Linked DNA regions of Homo sapiens: all the other regions are linked to region 2. The links are contacts of gene promoters, found by promoter capture Hi-C in blood cells and fetal thymus (Javierre and others, 2016). All regions are on one chromosome and are shown on one strand. Each heading gives the region's core, a stretch centred on a gene start or on the middle of the fragment in contact. The rest is flanking DNA. Distances are from core to core; before and after follow the strand shown. Region 1 has its middle 19 kb from the start of ZNF175. Region 2 holds the start of SIGLEC8 (sialic acid binding Ig like lectin 8). Region 3 has its middle 2.6 kb from the start of SIGLEC6. Region 4 overlaps ETFB (electron transfer flavoprotein subunit beta).

Region 1 (2,982 bases), core at 331-2,830, 94 kb after region 2:
TTTTTTTTTTTTTTTTTTTTTTTTTTGAGATGGAGTCTCGCTCTGTCACCCAGGCTGGGGTGCAGTGGCACAATCTCGGCTCACTGCAACTTCCACCTCCCAGGTTCAAGCGATTCTCCTGCCTTGGCCTCCCTAGTAGCTGGGATTACAGGCACCTGCCTCTACACCTGGCTAATTTTTGTATTTTTAGTAGAGATGGAGTTTCACCATGTTGGCCAGGCTGGTCTAGAACTGCTGACCTCAGGTGATCCACCCACCTCGGCCTCCCAAAGTGCTAGGATTACAGGCATGAGCCACTGCGCCCAGCCTTCTTCCAAGTTTTGACAGGGCTTATTTGTGGCCACAGGGGGATTATGGTGTCTGTGGGCCCCCTCTGGGATCCAAAGGTGGGTGTGGACTGGATTAAAGTCAGTCCAGAAAACCCATGGATTGGACTGGAGAATGAAGCTGGGCACAGAATGCAAAGGTTCCCTCTTCACCGTCACTGACTGAAAGGTGAGAGCACAGCCGGCTGATTCTCATGGGACTGCTGCCGGGAAGCAAGCTGTGGCTGCAGCCCGACTGAGCAACCTCTTCCTCAGGCCTCTGCTGCCCTCACAGCTGGGGCAATGGCAGCAGCGGAAAAGGATGTTCTACATTCCGCTGACACCATCTGATTTGTTGGGAGCCGAAAAGGCCAAAGAGATCGTGACCAACTCAGCATTCCACTGGAGGCTATATGATCAAACAGCAAACTGTTTATCATGAATACAGGATGTGAGCAAACTCACGACTGCACCTGCCGCCAGAAGGTTTGCTGAGGGCGGTCACTCCCTGGCGCCGGCTCCTTGAAGTTATCTTCTGGGACATCTAGGGCCTACTGTTCAAGGAATACAGTCTTGCAAGCCTACTCTAGATGGAGCAGCTGACCTCTTCTTCCACCCCTCCTTCTCGCTATCTCTTTTGCCTAATAAATATGGAGGGCTGTGTAAAGTTCAGGGCCCTTGTCCACTAGAGGCAAGGTGCCCCCTGACCCCTTCTTCCAAACACATTCTTTTGTTCTCTTGTCTTTGTTCCCGCGTTCGTCCCCCTTTGTTCAGTCCCCCAAGGTCCGTGCAGTTTACAAGCGGTGCCCCGAACAGTGACAGGATTGGGCAGTCTACAAGTAGCACCCCAAACAGTGAGAGAACTAGGCTGTCTTCACTGATTAGCCTCTCCCACTTGGAAGTGGGCACAACCTTGGAGTGATAGATTCTCTTCCTGGATTGAATGTATTGTTCCTCTCCCAAATTTCTGCCTTCAGCAAACGCTACTTTTGCCCTCAGACCACTACAGGGGAAATGAAAGCTGAGCTCTCCTCTCCCCTGACCACAGCAGGGTGGGACCTTCCTTCCTCCTCTTCCTCACCACCTGAAGACCAACCCCCACTTCCCTCAAGAGAGATGTGGAGTTTCTGGGTCTGTTTTCCCCAGTTGCTTTTCTTGGAGCCCCTTGCATAGGGTCATAGGAGAGTGAGACTGAGACTCTCCTAAAATGGAACCCTCTCTGTCCTCAGCTCCAGCCGTGGCTCCAGCTCTGGCTCCAGACTTAGGTGAGCTCTTTGGGTTCAGGGTGAGGCAGAAAGAACTTGTCCTGTGTCTCTCCTCCTACTCTCACTTCCTGTGGGCCCTGCCTGCACATATACATACACAGTCTCTTCACTTTGACTTTTCCACAGTTTTCCAGCCTCTACAACTCCTCCCCTCTGTGGAGTGACCAGCAAATATTCCTCTCCTGGCCTCTCTCTCTCTTGAAATGAATAGCCTGCTAGGTCTCCCATGGACAGCTCCCCATCTCTGAGCTCACGGGACTCTTTTTTCAATCTAAGTAAGATCCCTTGTGTGCCTAAACACTTTGAATGTCTTCCATCACTTCCAAAGACCATGCTTCCATCAGCTGCCTGATATTCTGTTCCTCCATTTAGCCTACAGATCCTGAAGCATATATACATAATATATATATTATATATATGATATATGACATATATATATATATGTAATCTTTTAGGATTGGGCACAAAGCTAAAGACTGAAAAGGACCATGAGTCTTGTTCTTTGTCCTCCAGAGCTCCAATTGGGTACGAGTACCAGTCGGAGGTGGTACAGAGGTGAGAGGAGTAGGGAAGAAGAGGGAGAGGGGAAGAGACACAGATTGAGACAGAGAGAGAGAGAGGGAGAGAGAAAAAGAGAGAAGAGGAAGAGAGGGAGAGGGGAAAGAGATAGAGAAAGAGAGAGACAGACAGACAGAGAGAGAGAGAGAGAGAAAGTTTTCCTTCAACAGGAACATTCCCTTTGCCCTCAGACAAGGCAAAGGGGGAAAGAAAGAGACTAGAAACAGACTGAGACAGAAAGAAAGGTAGAGAGGCAGGAAAAAGGGAGACAGGGAGAGAAAGACAGAAGAGGGGAAAGGGGAAGAAGGTGAAAAGAGACATAGACTGAGATAGACGAAGAAGCAGGGAAGAGAGAGAGAAAGGGGTAGGAGAGAGGGAGAGAGACAGAGAAAGATGAGCAGGAGGAAGAGGAGGGGGGGAGGAGAAGGAGGAGGAGGAGGGGGAGGGGAGGAAGAGGAGGGGGAGGAGAAGGAGGAGGAGGGAGAGGGGGAGGCGAAGGGAGTTTATCACAATTAGACAGGGATTCCTGAAGGCCCCGGGGGTGGAGTCTGTCCTAAGAGGCAAGAAACCAGGGATATGTGCAGATTCCCTCTCTGAGTGATCTAAGGGCCCATCTCCTGGGCGTGACCGAGAGCCCGAGAAGGGCAGACACAGACTGGGAGGTTTTCCTATCCTGCGCCGTTCTCTCCCATGTCTACCATCAGGGACCGCGCAAAGAGGCTGGTGGCTCTCGCTGCACATCCAGACACGTTTTGGTCCTGGCGAGCCACAGGCATCAGGGAGAGTGGCGCTGTCCCTGGTGCTGAAGCAGGACTGTGTCCCTGGTTTAGGAATGACTGGGCTATGCAGAGGAG
Region 2 (2,828 bases), core at 67-2,566:
CTGAAGGCCCTGCTCCCCCAACCCCAGGGAGGGGGCTCTGTCCTACCTGTGGCATCTCCTTGGAAGACAGTCATGGTCAAGTTCCAAGGAGGGTCTGGGACAGAAAGACATGAAGACCCACATTACTATAAGGACTGGGGACATTGGCCCTGTCTTCCCAGGAGCTGCAAATACAGGGAAAATGGAGTCGGCATTCTCCTGACCCCACTCCCAGCCCAGATTCTGGGACCCAGAACCCAGTGTCCAGGCTTGAACCCCATCCCCTGCCCTCAGGAACACCTCCCAACCCATGAGGGACCTGGGCATCTTGGTCCAGCACTCACAGGACACATCGAGGCGGACGGTACTGGTCGTGGTCACACCTGTCCCAGGCAAGGTCACCTGACAGGTGAGGCTGGTGCCGTGGTCCTGGGGCTTTGGGGTAAGGGTGAGCACTGAGGAGCGGGCAGTAGTGGGGCCCGGGGAGGACACGGAGGCCCCAATCCAGGAGATCATGGGGGGTGTCCCCTGCTTACAGGCCCAGGGCACAGAGCAGGTCAGGTTCCTGGAGTGGCCAGACTCTAGGGTCCCTAGGATGAGGATGTCAGGCCTATGGGTCAGGGCTGGTGAAGATGGGGACACAGGATCAGGAGGAGGTATTTCAGGTGCAGCCCTGGAGGAAGCTCAAGCTCTGGTCCAGCTCCTCCCCGGAGACCGACTTATTTCAATCCCAACCCCCTCCCAGGCCCCATCCCAGCCCTGCCTTTCAGCCCCTCATGACCTTCCCCTGTGGCCTGTGCTGGAGCCCGTGCCTTACCTGTCACAAACACAGACAGCTGCTTAGTTTTGTAATTCAACTGTGATTTGTAACTCCATTTCATGCTTCCTCTCTCTAGCCGAAAGAAATATGACCCCTTATCCCTCTTCCTGGCGTCTCTGATGCTCAGGGAGCAGTCGTTGCTCCAAATGTCCCCAAGGAGTTGGAATCGGCCCTGGGTCTCTGCCTGCACTTCTCTGTCTGGGTTGTTTGTGGCCACTGGAGCGTCTTGGTATGGTCTGTCTCCTGCCCGGAACCAGTAGCCATGAACTGGGTCAGAGTCAGTCCAGCCATCCTGGGGGTAGGAGAAGGAGCAGGGCACATGGACACACAGGCCCTCCTGCACCGTCACCAGCTCCTGCACTTGCAGCAAGTAACCATCCCCATATTGTCTGTCTCCCTCCATCCCCTTTGTCCCCCAGAGCAGGGGCAGCAGCAGCAGCAGCAGCAGCATGTCTGGGTTTGAAGGCGCCAGGGCCGCCAGGGAACGTCTGTTCCTCAGGGTTCTTCTCTCAGAAACTGAGGTCTCAAGACTTAGGGGAGGTCCCGCAGGAGGTTGGGGGTGAAGTCAGAAAAGTGACCTCCTCAGAGGAGGAACTTCACACACAGACACTGTCAGGGCCGGGTCAGTCCTGGGAGATCCACTGTCCACCACCCCATTTCCACTCCTGGGAACCCTGAGGCCAGAGAGGGTGAGAAACTCATCCAGATTCCCACCCTATGCAGGGCCCAACCTCTTTCTTGCTTCCCGGACTTGCCCTTCCATTTGGGTAACATTTTCTGCAAGGTGAAATTGGGTCCCATCTGGCCAGACCCCTGAATCACCCCCGGGGCTGTCACTGTTTGTGGAGGTCATACCAGCCAAAGGTGGAACTCAGGGCCATGAGAGACTGGGGTGCAGGTGAGGTGAGCAGGCAGCCTCTCCTCCCTCTCTCAGCAGCAACGAAGTGGGCACCTCCTCTTTACACAACGAGGTCAACAGAGCAGAGCCAGACACTGTCCTCAAGGAGTCACTGTGCAGAGGGGAGACACGGAGGCTCCTGACGTCTGAGCTCCCCAGGACGGGAGCTTCAGTGGGGGGCACAGGCAAGGTGGGGTCGTTCTCCCCTAGGTCAGGGGTTCAGTCTCAGGAGGCCTGAGCAGAGGGACACGGGGCTGTGGAGGTGAGGATTCTGCATGTTGATACACACGAAGGACGGGGGGCGGGGGGAAGCCTGGCTCGCAGGAGGCCTGGGAAACTGAGGCTGTAACTGTTGTACTGTGGGGTTTGGAAGGGAGAAATGTCAGAAGGGAAAGGGTCAATTTGAAAAGGGCACACACTTCTCCCTTTGTTGCAGCTATCTGGGTATCAGAATGGGTTTCTTCACCACCCGTATCTTACTCAGCCACACTTCCCCTGGTTACTGCACAGCAGGCGGGGTCTGTCAGCCCTGGGGCTTTGCTCCTGCAGGCTCTGCTTCCAGGGGTCCAGGTGAACAGGTGTCATGGAACGAGGACACCAGCCCTGGGGTGTGCACCTTCAGCGATGGGCAGGATTTCTTGAGAGAAGAAATGTGCACCTGAATTCAACAGATGATGATGATGATGATGATGATGATGATGATTATTATTATTATTATTATTATTATTATTTGAGACGGAGTCTCTCTCTGTCGCCAGGCTGGAGTGCAGTGGCGCGATCCCGGCTCACTGCAACCTCTGACTCCCTGGTTCAAGCGATTCTCCTGCCTCAGCCTCCCAAGTAGCTAGGATTACAGGCATACGCCACCACATCCAGCTAATTTTTGTATTTTTAGTAGAGCCGGGGTTTCACCATGTCGACCAGGATGGTCTGGATCTCCTGACCTCATGATCCACCCACCTCAGCCTCCCAAAGTGCTGGGATTACAGGTGTGAGCCACCGTGCCTGGCCTCAACAGATTATTTTAAACTGTGTGGCTGGGGGCTGGGAAGAAGTTAAGGGGGATCCTGGGAGGCGGAGCCTCCTTAGACTCAGGTCAATTTTCTTGAAACATTTTTTGGGGGGTAAATA
Region 3 (2,790 bases), core at 207-2,706, 76 kb after region 2:
TTGTTAACTAAAATCACACTATTCTGCTCTCTAACGCTGAATTTATTCCTTTTAACTGTATGTTTGTAGCACTTCACTCACTTCTCTTCATCTTCTGTCCTCCCCCATCTGACCCTTTCCAGTCTCTGTTGTCTATCTTTCTACTGTCCACCTCCATGTGATAATATTTTTTTAGCTCCCACATGTAAGTGAGAACATGCAACATTTGTCTTTTTGTGTCTGACTTATTTCAATTTAGATAATGAATTCTAGTCCCATCCATGTTGCTGCAAATGACACGATTTCATTCTTTTTTATGGCCAAATAGCATGTATACTATATTTTCTTTATCCATTCATCTGTTAATTGACACTTAGGTTGGTTCCATATCTCTGATATTGTGAATAGTGCAGCAAAAATCATGTGAATGCAGGTATCTCTTTGATGTATTTCTTTCTTTCCCTTCGGGTAGATACCCAGTAGTGGGATTGCTTGAGTGATCGAATAGTAATTCTATTTTTAGTTCCTGAGAAATGTCCATAGTGTTTTCAAAAGTGGCTGTACTAGTTTAAATTCCCACCAACAGTACAGAAGAGTTATCTTTCTCCTCATCCTTGCCAAAATCTGTTATTTTTTGTTTTTTTAGTAATAGTCATTCTGACTGGGTAAGACGGTATCTCATTTTGGTTTAGATGTGCACTTCTCTGATGATTAGTGACGCTGACCATTTTGTCGTATTGGCTGTTCTTATGTATTCTTTGAGAACTGTCTATTCCTGTCCTTTGCCCACTTTTTACTTGGATTATTTGCTTTTTCCTGTTGAGTTGTTTGAGTTCCTTGTATAGTCTGGATATTAGTCTCCTGTCAGAAGAATAGTTTGCGAATATTTTCTCCAATTCAACAGGTTGTTTCTTCACTCTAATTATTTCTTTTCCTGGCAGAAGCTTTTTGTTTATTAAGTCCCATTTGTTTATTTTTGTTTTTGTTGCCTGTGCTTTTCAGAACTTAGTCATAATTTCTGACTCTTCTGACCAATGTTCAAAAGAGTTTTCCCTAGGTTTTCTTGTAGCTGTTTTTTTTTTTTATAGTTTTGGGTCTTACATTTAAGTGTATGATTCATTTTGAGTTTTTTTTTAATATGGTGAGAGAGAAGAATCCAGTTTCATTCTTTTGTGTGTGGGTATACAATTTTCCCAGCACCATTTATTGAAGAAGGTGTCCTTTCCTCAATATAAGTTCTTGTCAGTTTTGTTGACAATCAATTGGCTGTATACATGTGGCCTTATTTCTGGGTTATATTCCATTGGTCTATGTATCTATTTCTATACCAATATCATGCTGTTTTGGTTATTATAGCCTTGTAATATACTTTGAAGTCAGGTAAAGTGATACCACCAGCTTTGTTCTTTTTTCTCCGGATAGCTTTGGCTATTCAGGTTCTTTTTGGATCCATATGAATTTTATAATTGTTTTTTACAATTCTGTGAAGACTGACATTGGTATTTTCATATGGATTACATTAAATCTTTAGATTGCTATAGACCAGTGTGGGCTTCTTAACTATCTTAATTCTTCCAGTCATGAGTATGGGATGTTTTTCCATTTGTTTGTGTCATCTTCAATTTCTTTCATCAGTGTTTTTTAGTTTTTCCTGTATAGATTTTCACCTGGTAGGTCATTAAGAGCATATTGTTTAATTTCCATACATTTGTCTTGTTTCCAGAGTTCCTCTTGGTGCTGACTTGTTGTTTTGTTCCATTGTGGTCTGAGTATACATTGAGTAAATATTGATTTTTTTTTTAATTTATAGAGACTTATTTCGTAGCCGAATATATGGTGTATCCTGGAGAATGTTTCATGTACTGATGAAAAGAATATGTATTCTGCAGTTGTTGGGTAGAAGTTCTGTAAAAGTCTGTTAGTTCCATTTGGTCTATAGTGTAGTTTAAATGTGATGTTTGTTTGTTGATTTTCTGTCTAAGTGATCTGTCTTACTGAGAATAGGGTGGTGAAGCTTCCCACCATTATTGTATTGCATTCTATCTCTCTCTTTAGATCTAGTAATATTTGCTTTATAGATATGGCTGCTCCATTGCTGGGTGCATATATATTTAGAATTGTTATATCCTCTTGCTGGGTTGATCCCTTCATCATTATATAATGACCTTCTTTGTCTTTTTCTACTGCTCTTGACCTAAGGTCTGTTTTATCTAAGTATAGTTACTGCTGCTTACTATTGGTTTCCATTTGTGTGGAATATCTTTCTCCATCCTTTTACTTTTGGTCTATATGTGTCTTTTCTTAAGGTGTGTTTCTTTAAGCTGCACACTGTTGAGTCATTTTTAAAATCCATTCAGCCATTCTATATCTTTTAAGAGGATACTTTAATCCATTTACATACATGGTTATTATTGATTTGTGAGGCTTTCTTTCTGTCAGGTTATTAAACATTTTCTTGTTTTAAACATTCGTTGTTTCTTTCCTTTTATCTTATTGTTTGTCCTTGTGATTTGGTGGATTTCTGTAGTGGTACCATTTGAGTCCTTTCTAGTTCTCATTTGCATGATTGCTTTACCAGTGAATTTTTTACTTTCATATGTTTTCGTGATGATAAAATCATCCTTTTGCTTCCAGGTTTAGGACTCCTTTGAGTATTTTTTCCAAGGCTGGTCTAGTGGTAATAAATTTCATCAGCATTTGTTTGTCTTGGGATGAATCTATTTCTCTTTTATTTATGAAGAATAGTTTCTTTGCATGTTCTGTGGTGGCAGTTATTTTTTCTTTTAGCACTTAGAATATATCAGTTCCTTC
Region 4 (2,861 bases), core at 193-2,692, 110 kb before region 2:
ATGATGCGCTGAACCCTCCCTATAGGCTGAGATGATGCGCTGAACCCTCCCTATAGGCTGAGATGATGCGCTGAACCCTCCCTATAGGCTGAGATGATGCGCTGAACCCTCCCTATAGGCTGAGATGATGCGCTGAACCCTCCCTATAGGCTGAGATGATGCGCTGAACCCTCCCTATAGACTGAGATGATGCGCAGAACCCTCCCTATAGGCTGAGATGATGCGCTGAACCCTCCCTATAGGCTGAGATGATGCGCTGAACCCTCCCTATAGGCTGAGATGATGCGCTGAACCCTGCCTATAGACTGAGATGATGCGCTGAACCCTCCCTATAGGCTGAGATGATGCGCAGAACCCTCCCTATAGGTTGAGATGATGCGCTGAACCCTCCCTATAGACTGAGATGATGTGCTGAACCCTCCCTATAGACTGAGATGATGCGCAGAACCCTCCCTATAGGTTGAGATGATGCGCTGAACCCTCCCTATAGGCTGAGATGATGCGCTGAACCCTCCCTATAGGCTGAGATGATGTAGTGAACACTCTGTAATGGCTGAAATGACTCATTGAACCCTCCCCATTAGTTGAGATGATCCAGTGAACCCTCCCTGTTGGCTGAGATGAATATTCTCTATTGGCGGAGATGACCCACTAAACTGTTAATATTGGCCAAGATGACCCAGCGAACCCATCTACTGGCCATGATGATTAGTGAACTCTACCTGTTAGCCAAGAGACCCCATGCACCCTTCCTAGTTAACTAAGATGATCTACATGGTAACTTCACATTGGCAAAAATTACCAAGGGGACCCTCCCTAATGAACCTAGATGACCCAGTGAACTTGTTCCACTGGCTGGAATGACAAAGGGAACACCTTCTGCTGCCCAGCGAAGGCTTTCTACTGGCCTAGATACCAGCAAGCCCTCCCTGCTAGCCAAAGCAGCCCCCATGAACTCTCAGTATTGGCAGAGATGACCCAGCAAACTCTCTCTATCAGCCAAACTCCAGGTGACGGCTTCCTGTGCACGAGACCTCCTTTGGATCCTTCCCTCCCCACGTGCGACCACCGGGGGGCACTGGGCTGGCAATGTGCTTGCCACCCCCAGGCCCTCAGTGCCCGCTGGCCAGGGGCTCACCATGATGTTGGGCAGCGTGGCGTAGCGGGGCTCGTTGAGCCTCAGGTCAGCTGTCACCACAGCTGGCAGCTTCAGGCGCAGGGTCTCCAGGCCCCCATCGATCTCCCGCTCCACTTTCAACTTGTCCCCCTCCAGCGTCACCTGGGAGGCGAATGTGCCCTGGGGAGGGACAGTGTAGGAGGAGAGTGGGTGAGGCTAATTCAGGTCCGACCCGAGCAGTCTGCTTATGCCACTACTGAGTACACGCATGGACTAGTGAATGAATGAGGGAGCGAACAATGCAGGGTCCCATGAGGTTTAGAATCGAGCTTGTACACCTGGGAGAGGGTCTTTTTCCTTTCCCTGAGAGCCACGGTGTATGTCCTGATGTCCCATGTCCTGATGCTGCCAGTGAGGCCTCCCTGCCTTCCTGACAGGGAACATGTACTGAGTGCTGAGCCCTGTGCTAAGCAACTGATGTATCAAGTCATCGAATCCTCGCAGGAACTTTATGAGGTAAATGTTATTATCCCCACTTTACAGATGAGAGAAACTGAGGCAGCAAGATGCTGAGTTACACGCCCACTGCCACCCACAGCTGGTAAATCCAAAAGCTGACAATCTGGCTCCCAACGGCCCCCCGTGAGGCCCCTCCGCTGGGCAGACAACAGAACTGTGTGTGTCCACACCAGTCCTTAAACCACCTTCTGGGACCCCGTCCTCTAGCCAGGTCCCTTTGCCTCTCAGTCCTGAATCAACATTTCCTCCCCTGGTAACTGATGCCACCTACACTCCTCTTTGTCTAACGACCTTTGTCCCTGTCCACTTATTAACTGGACACATTTTTCAGGTCTTAGTGTGAACATCACCTCCCTTCATTCACAACCTCCTCCTAGTGCCCTTATGAACCTGCCCCTGGAGACACACTGTGAACACGACCAGTGAAGCACCAGCTTGGGTGGGCTCATATTCTGCCAGGGAAGACAACCAGTCACCAGGGAAAAACACACACACACAAATGAGATCATTTCCAATCAGAAGGAATAAGAAGAAAATAAGACACATGATATGAGAGCAAGAAGGGCGCACGTTGGAGAAGCTAGTCAGACAGTGGTAAATGCTTTGAAGATAAAACAGGATAATGGTTTTGAATGTGTTGTCCCATCCAGTAGCCACTGGCTGCGTGTGGCTGTCCAGCCAGTGCAGCTGAGGAATGAATTTTTACATTTTATTTAAATTTAAATACTGATAATTTGGCCAGGCGCAGTGGTTCATGCCTGTAATCCCAGCACTTTGAGGGGCCAAGGCGGGTGGATCACTTGAGGTCAGGAGTTCAAGACCAGCCTGGCCAACATGGCGAAACCCTGTCTCTACTAAAAATACAAAAATTATCCAGGTATGGTGATGCACGCTTGTAATCCGATCTACTCGGGAGGCTGAGGCAGGAGAATCGCTTAAATTCGGGAGGCGGAGGCTGCAGTGAGCCAAGATCGCGCCACTGCACTCCAGTCTGGGGACAGAACAAGACTCCACCTCAAAAAAATAAAAATAAATAAATACTGAGAATTCAAGACACATTATCATGATTGTGGTGATGATTTCATGGATGTAACACATATCAAAACTTAAATTTTGGAGGGCTGAGGTGAGCAGCTTGCTTGAGCCCAGGAGTTAAAGACCAGCTTGGGCAACATAGTGAGACCCCCATCTCTATCTAAATAAAAGAGTTTAAGAAAAGCAAACT

The links. Contacts are between HindIII fragments. The CHiCAGO score rates a contact against its expected background, and 5 or more counts as called.
Region 1: a contact is called between a fragment that was not itself captured here and the fragment with the promoter of SIGLEC8 in region 2, in 2 of 17 cell types (megakaryocytes and monocytes). The highest score is 6.8, in megakaryocytes.
Region 3: a contact is called between a fragment that was not itself captured here and the fragment with the promoter of SIGLEC8 in region 2, in 1 of 17 cell types (monocytes). The highest score is 5.7, in monocytes.
Region 4: a contact is called between a fragment that was not itself captured here and the fragment with the promoter of SIGLEC8 in region 2, in 1 of 17 cell types (total B cells). The highest score is 5.4, in total B cells.

The regions. Positions count from the first base shown.
Region 1 is chr19:51,550,452-51,553,433 of GRCh38, forward strand. No RefSeq gene overlaps it. Among named protein-coding and RNA genes, the nearest start is that of ZNF175, 19 kb to the right of the region's middle. The HindIII fragment of the contact is 3,960 bases long and covers 1-2,982 here.
Region 2 is chr19:51,457,138-51,459,965 of GRCh38, forward strand. SIGLEC8 (sialic acid binding Ig like lectin 8) reads right to left here and starts at 1,317. Exons shown (of 7, transcript NM_014442.3): 1 at 797-1,317; 2 at 324-602; 3 at 47-94. The coding sequence starts at 1,250. The HindIII fragment of the contact is 20,005 bases long and covers 1-2,828 here.
Region 3 is chr19:51,532,911-51,535,700 of GRCh38, forward strand. No RefSeq gene overlaps it. Among named protein-coding and RNA genes, the nearest start is that of SIGLEC6, 2.6 kb to the left of the region's middle. The HindIII fragment of the contact is 1,070 bases long and covers 922-1,991 here.
Region 4 is chr19:51,345,762-51,348,622 of GRCh38, forward strand. ETFB (electron transfer flavoprotein subunit beta) reads right to left here. Exons shown (of 6, transcript NM_001985.3): 5 at 1,139-1,297. Among named protein-coding and RNA genes, the nearest start is that of VSIG10L, 5.1 kb to the left of the region's middle. The HindIII fragment of the contact is 7,447 bases long and covers 1-2,861 here.